2 separate regions of the Homo sapiens genome follow, and region 1 is linked to region 2. Evidence: promoter capture Hi-C in 16 types of primary human blood cells and fetal thymus (Javierre and others, 2016). All regions are on one chromosome and are shown on one strand. Each heading gives the region's core, a stretch centred on a gene start or on the middle of the fragment in contact. The rest is flanking DNA. Distances are from core to core; before and after follow the strand shown.

Region 1 (3,181 bases), core at 333-2,832, 33 kb before region 2:
CTCTGTCACCCAGGCTGGAGTGCAGTGGCACAATCTTGGCTCACTGCAGCCTCCACCGCCCAGGTTCAAGTGATCCTCCTGCCTCAGCCTCCCAAGTACTAAGATTACAGGCACCCACCACCACACCTGGCTAATTTTTGTATTTTTTGTGGAGATGTGGTTTCACCATATTGGCCAGACTGGTCTCGAACTCCTGATCTCAGGTGATCCACCTGCCTCGGCCTCCCAAAGTGCTGGGATTACAGGTGTGAGCCACCGCACCTGGCCTGCTAGCTAGCTATATTATTTATAGCTACTCCTTAATTATATGCTAAATAAGAGGTGGGTTATTCACATATTTTTTAGAAAAGGTGTGAGGATTCCTGGGATAGAGGGTTTCTCCCCTTCTAAAGCATATAAGGTAACTTCTGGGCATTGCCATAGTGTTTGTAAACTGTCATGGCATTGGTGGGAGTGTCTTTTCATATGCTAATACATTATAATTAGCATATAATGAGCAGTGAGGGTAATTAGAGGTCACTTTTGTCACCATCTTGGTTTTAGCTGGGTTCTTTACCACATCCTGTTCTGACCAGACTGTTTTGTTCAGCGGGGTCATGACTGGTGCCTGGGAAGCAAGTCCTGCTGATCTCCTGCCTCAGAAGGGAGGGGTGGTGGTGGATGCCAATCCCACCCCAATCACCTGCCTGTCATTATCACGGAGGTGGTGAAATGGATCCTGGGTCAGCAGCTGTGGAAATGGAGACAGCTATGCTCCTAAAAGGGCTTTGTGGACAATAGTGAGGCTCTGCTCAGTAGCCAGACATCTCAGCAGATTCAGAGATTGTCAGTATTGACCAAGGATCAGATCCCTACTCACCCTGTCCCTGGCACCTTGGTACTATTTACCCTGTGGAACTTACATACAACTATGTAGAAAGAGGGGCACCCAGCGATTACTCAGATTGAGTTTCCACTACCCTCAGCATAATGAGAACTTGGAGAAGAAATTAAAATATAGAAAATAAAGTTGCATTTCTTACACATCAGTTTGTGGACTTTGACTCATACCTGCTATATCAATTAGGGCTCTGACCTACAGAGAGAACTTCCACAAATCCAAGTTCCCGTGCTCGAAGGAAACAGTCCTTCCTCACATGTGTCTTCAGAAATTCTTCTTGTCCTTCATGGGTTAGCTTAAGTGACACTTTTTCTGTGAAGTCTTTCCCAACCAGCCACCCAGAAGTCCTCCTCTCCCTTTGTGCTTGCTCTTATCCCTCCTGTTGCAGGGTCCCGGTGGAAGGCCCAAGGCTCTGCCCCAATGTGTGCCTCCAGTCTTGAAAGGCATTGTGTTAGGAGAAATATGATATTTGAGAGCTTTCTGGACATATCTCCAACCATCTTTTTTTTTTTTTTTTTAATTAAAGGCTTTAAAAAAGTGAGTTAATGATTCTGAAAATGTCTTGTAGTTCATACTGCAGTCTAAGAACCAAAAAGAGAAAGTGCTTTCTTTGTGTATCAGTTGAGGGATTCTGTGGGGGAAGGTGGAATGTCACAGCATCTTGACACAAATTTGCCTATGCCTTTGATTTTTGTTGTTGTTGTTGTTTTTTATTTTTTGAGACCAGAGTCTTGCTCTGTCACCCAGGCTGGAGTGCAGTGGCACGATCTTAGCTCACTGCAAATTCTGCCTCCCAGGTTCAAGCGATTCATGTGCCTCAGCCTCTCGAGTAGCTGGGATTACAGGCACGCACCACCACACCTGACTAATTTTTGTATTTTAGGAGAGATGGGGTTTCACCATGCTGGCCAGGCTGGTCTTGAACTCCTGACCTCAGGTGATCCATCCACCTCAGCCTCCCAAAGGGCTGGGATTACACCTTTGATTGTTTTTTACTTCCTAGTTCCCTGAACTGAGCTCTGTGAGATACATTGAATTTAAGTCCTAGACAAAAGACACGGTCCACTCCTAAGGACCCATCCATGAACGTTTGCTATCACCATCAGAAGAAAAAATCAAGGCTAAATTTTGAGCAGGACTGCAGATGTGAGTAAAAAATTTGTTCAGTTATATGGGTTTTGTGAATCTGGAAACGATCATAGATTTAGCAAAATTCCAAGCTGTGAAGTGCTATTTTCTATGGATTAGGTAAAATTGGATTTGTGTGTGTGTGTGTGTGTGTGTGTGTGCAACAAAATCAAAAGTGTAAAATTTGGAAAACAAACATGCAAAACAAAGCAGGCTTTTATGTCCTGACATTTTCTTTCAGTTATAAAGCCCATGTGTTGAAAGATAGGGCAAAAGCAACATACGGCTACGAGCCAGAAAGACAGGAGGCAATGATGCTTTTATTCCTTTAGGGTGGGAAATGAGTTTACACAGTGCAGGAAGAGAAATGACATAAAACAGGGTGGGATTAGTTCTTGTAGGGAGGAAAGGCCTCTTTTCTCTCCTGCACGTGATGTGTAGTGTGTGAGGTCTGGTGGGGGTGAGTGGTGGGTGTATGGAGAAGTGTAGGAAGGGAAATAATACTTCTTTTTTTTTTTTTTTTTTTTTTTGAGACGGAGTCTCGCTCTGTCGCCCAGGCCGGACTGCGGACCGCAGTGGCGCAATCTCGGCTCACTGCAAGCTCCGCTTCCCGGGTTCACGCCATTCTCCTGCCTCAGCCTCCCGAGTAGCTGGGACTACAGGCGCCCGCCACCGCGCCCGGCTAATTTTTTGTATTTTTAGTAGAGACGGGGTTTCACCTTGTTAGCCAGGATGGTCTCGATCTCCTGACCTCATGATCCACCCGCCTCGGCCTCCCAAAGTGCTGGGATTACAGGCGTGAGCCACCGCGCCCGGCCGGGAAATAATACTTCTTAGCTATGGTGTTCCAGTACCAGATACCACTGGGAGCTTTATCTCATTTAATCCGTACAACCATCTTATGAGGTAGGTATTTCTTATCATTCCCATTTACATGTAAGAAAACCAAGCCTCAGAGAGATTGTGTCCAAAGTACACTTTGTACTTGGTTTTGGGACAAGCCTTGGGTTATGGAACAAGATATAAAACAAGGTTGTGTGTCTGCAAAACCCATTCTCCTCATTTCATCATTTCACACTGCATCTTTAAATGTCCACATCATATTATAAGAAGTCAACATATAAAGAAGCGAGACCAAAGAAGCTGAGAAAATGAATGGGGTTGGGTGCAGTG
Region 2 (3,387 bases), core at 10-2,509:
TAAAGCACAGTCACTTTAAAGTGAATATATTTGACTTGATGAAAACTTTATACTGCTGAAGAGTCTGAAACAATAAAGATAAAAATTAAGGCAAACTAAAACTTCATTCCTTTTCCCTTCATTTTACCACAGAGGGTAAAAATTCAACACAGATTGCTATTGTTCTGGGACAGTGTTTGAGACTCCTTACTTCGCCATAGTTATCTAGGCTAGTATTATGTGGCCTATATTTCACAATATTAGCAACTCAGATTAAACACATTGAGCGCTTATTTTCTAGGAACTTATTTAAAACAACCGGCTTCTTCACAAACAGCAAATAAATATACACACACAGAATACTTCCAAGACTTAATGATAACTAACATTTAATCAAGCAAAAGGAAAAAAAAAACCTTAGTAATGTATGTAAATGTTAAATATAGTTCTCTAAGATGTAAGATTTTGTACCTGGAGCTTATGGATGTGTGTTATTGACCTTTGTGTTATGAGGTAATTTGCTTTTTTTTTTCTTCCACATCCACTAACTGGGCGTAAGCTTGGAATGTATATCTTTGAAATTGCAGGTCAAAGCCTCCGCATTAAAGCACCCGATGAGGCAAAGCTACAATTATGTGAGCCATGTGTGTTATGCAACACTTTTTGATAGCTGTTGCCAATTAGACTTAACTTATTGACACACCCGGGGAAGAATTTTCTAAGAAGGCGTGATTCTGAACGTTTGGTTGCACCAAAGAGGAAGAGGGGGCAGTAACTGAGGCTCTGGATCTAAAAGCCTTGCTTGTGGGCCAGGGGAACACGTGATTAAAGCCTTCCTGCAAACAGAGCATCTGCAAACGCAGTTTTAAACCCTTCCTGCAAACAAACCAAGTAAATTTTACTCGAAAAGAGGCCGTGGATGTGCTATTTTGTGTTCCTTTGCTGAGATTCTAAGCTGCTGGGACACACACCGGCCTTGCTTTGGCAAGTCTTCCTTGTTCTTTCTTGACCAGTTTCAGATTTTTTCCTGGTTCAAACACACACAGGGTGGCAGGGAGAGATTTTTGTTTCACGAGTATTCCAAGTGGAGGGGAAAGAGCGGGAGAAAACCGGGAAAAAGCTGCCTTTCCGTGGGGCCTGGCTCTGGGAGGCTACGGTGGGGAAGTTGGGGGGGGTGGTGGTGGGAGAGCTGTCACGTGACTCGTGCAGGGGCTGCTGGGAGTGCGGCGCGCTTCCCACCTCCACCCCCGAAGTCCGAGCACCCCGCGCCCGGGGTCTTCACTCCCTCGCGTTCGCTGACGAGGAAGGTCCCCATACCGCGAAGTACATTGGCCTTGGGGTGGGGCTGGAGGGATGGGCGCCTGTGAGAATGTGACGGACTGTGACACAAGGAAGGGTGCGAGGATGGAAACTTCCTCTGAGGGGCTCTAGTGGGGCGGAAACAACAGTAGGGAGGAAGTGCGGAGGGGCGGCGGGAAGTGAGGGAAAATGGAGGTGAAATGGCCTGAGGGGCTAGGATCGCGTTGAGAAGAGGGAGAAGACTAGAAGGAGACAGCTGCATGGGGCAGAGGGGACAGTGCTTAGTAACAGCCAGGTCACTAAGCCTAAGATGGCAGAGCCAGGGCAGTGGTCAGTGTTTGGCACACGACGAAGACCAGCCCGTCCACCAGGCCTGGATCTGCTGAGGCCTTGAGCCATGACAGGAAAACGAACTTATTTTTGCAGAAACAGTTACTTGATTATAAGTTTTCGTTTGACATAGGTGCACAGTGTTACTTGGGGAGAGAAGAGAAGGGGGTGAAGGGGAAAGGGAAAATTAGAAGGGGAAGGGAAGAGAGAAAAATCTGCCTGTTGGCTTCTCTGAAGTATTTTCCAACTCCCAAGGCAAAGTTAGCACTGCTGTGCATGTGTAGTATTTTCTAGATACTATTAATACTATTACAGCACGTAAACTTACATACTATAAAGGTACTGGCAGGAATGGAGACGTACGATACAGAATTTACTTAACAAGCATCATTCAAATTTGTTGTTGCTCTTTCTGTCTTCTATATATGCATATTTTATAGGACTAATCAAACAGATGTGTTAAAGTTACCCAAATCAGCATCGTTTCTCAAAAACAACAAAGTCAATTGATAACTTGAATATGGACAGGGCTCCCCTCATCTCAAAGACACAGAGACTATACCCTTCCAGGTTTCAACATTTGGACTCCTAGGGAAAATCCCTTCCGAATTTATGGAAAAGTAAAAGTAAAATTTGAAGCTACTTTAAAGTAAGGTTGGACAGTGGGAATAACCTCAGACTCGAGTGAGATCTCGGTTCTAATTTAGCTCAGTCTTACTGGTGTCACTTGATCCACCGTCACTGTCCCTGTTTTCTCACTTGTAAAAAATGAGATTGAATTAGATGAACTGTAAGACCTGTTTAAACATTAAGATTTTGTGAAGATAGAAGAATCCTTTTTTTTTTTTTGAGGTGGAGTCTCGCTCTGTTGCCCAGGCTGGAGTGCAATGGCACAATCTCGGCTCACTGCAACCTCCCTCTCCTGGGTTCAAGCGATTCTCTCACCTCAGCTTCCCAAGTAGCTGGGATTACAGGCGCCTGCCACCACGCCTGGCTAATGTTTGGATTTTTAGTAGACACAGGGTTTCACCATGCTGGCCAGGCTGGTCTCGAACTCCCGACCTCAGGTGATCTTCCTGCCTCAGCTTCCCAAAGTGCTGGGATTACAGCCGTGAGCCAGCGCGCCCGGCCGAAGATAAAAGAATCTTAACTGAGCCAGTCCTGAAACAAGGCAGAATTGCCAGAGAGACTCATTTGGCTAAGTACATAGAGAGGAGTAGTTGAAAATGATGGGACTAGTAGGCTTGCACCAGATAATACAGGACCTTGAAGGCCATATCATGGAATTTCAACTTATTCTGGAACAATGAAAGTTTTTGAGTTAAAGGAATGCAGTAATCAAAGTTTTGAAAGATTACCCAAATAGCAGTTGATAGAATGATTTAGAGGAGGGAGAAATTGAGTTTAGGAAAGTGACAGATAATGACAGTCTAAATTAACATCAGCAGTAGGAGTGGGAAACAGGGAAGGATTCCAGAGAGCTTGTAGCATGGAGTTTGTACCTAAATCTGGCATTGTTCTAAGCTTTGTAGCTGGTGCCTTCGGAATATGATGGCAAATCACCTTGTAAAGCCTGATAATAGAAATTGCAAGAGGCCAAGAGAATTGGAGGTAAGCTGTATGCCTATGGAGCCTTAATCTTTTATTCTGTTTTACATACTACTCAAATTTCTTCCCTTTAAGAAAGCTCTATAGATAAGTGGGATTTAATGTATTCGTATGCCCAGAGCTAGGATTGTCCTACAACATAGGAGGAACTATGTTGATTCCAGCTGCTTT

What was found. Contacts are between HindIII fragments. The CHiCAGO score rates a contact against its expected background, and 5 or more counts as called.
Region 1: a contact is called between a fragment that was not itself captured here and the fragment with the promoter of TEX12 in region 2, in 1 of 17 cell types (neutrophils). The highest score is 6.2, in neutrophils.

What each region holds. Positions count from the first base shown.
Region 1 is chr11:112,132,329-112,135,509 of GRCh38, forward strand. No RefSeq gene overlaps it. Among named protein-coding and RNA genes, the nearest start is that of IL18, 30 kb to the right of the region's middle. The HindIII fragment of the contact is 8,771 bases long and covers 1-3,181 here.
Region 2 is chr11:112,166,113-112,169,499 of GRCh38, forward strand. It overlaps TEX12 (testis expressed 12), which reads left to right and starts at 1,260. Exons shown (of 5, transcript NM_031275.4): 1 at 1,260-1,375; 2 at 3,141-3,219. The coding sequence starts at 3,157. It overlaps TEX12-AS1 (TEX12 antisense RNA 1), which reads right to left and starts at 1,031. Exons shown (of 3, transcript XR_001748384.2): 1 at 951-1,031; 2 at 1-64. The HindIII fragment of the contact is 2,594 bases long and covers 537-3,130 here.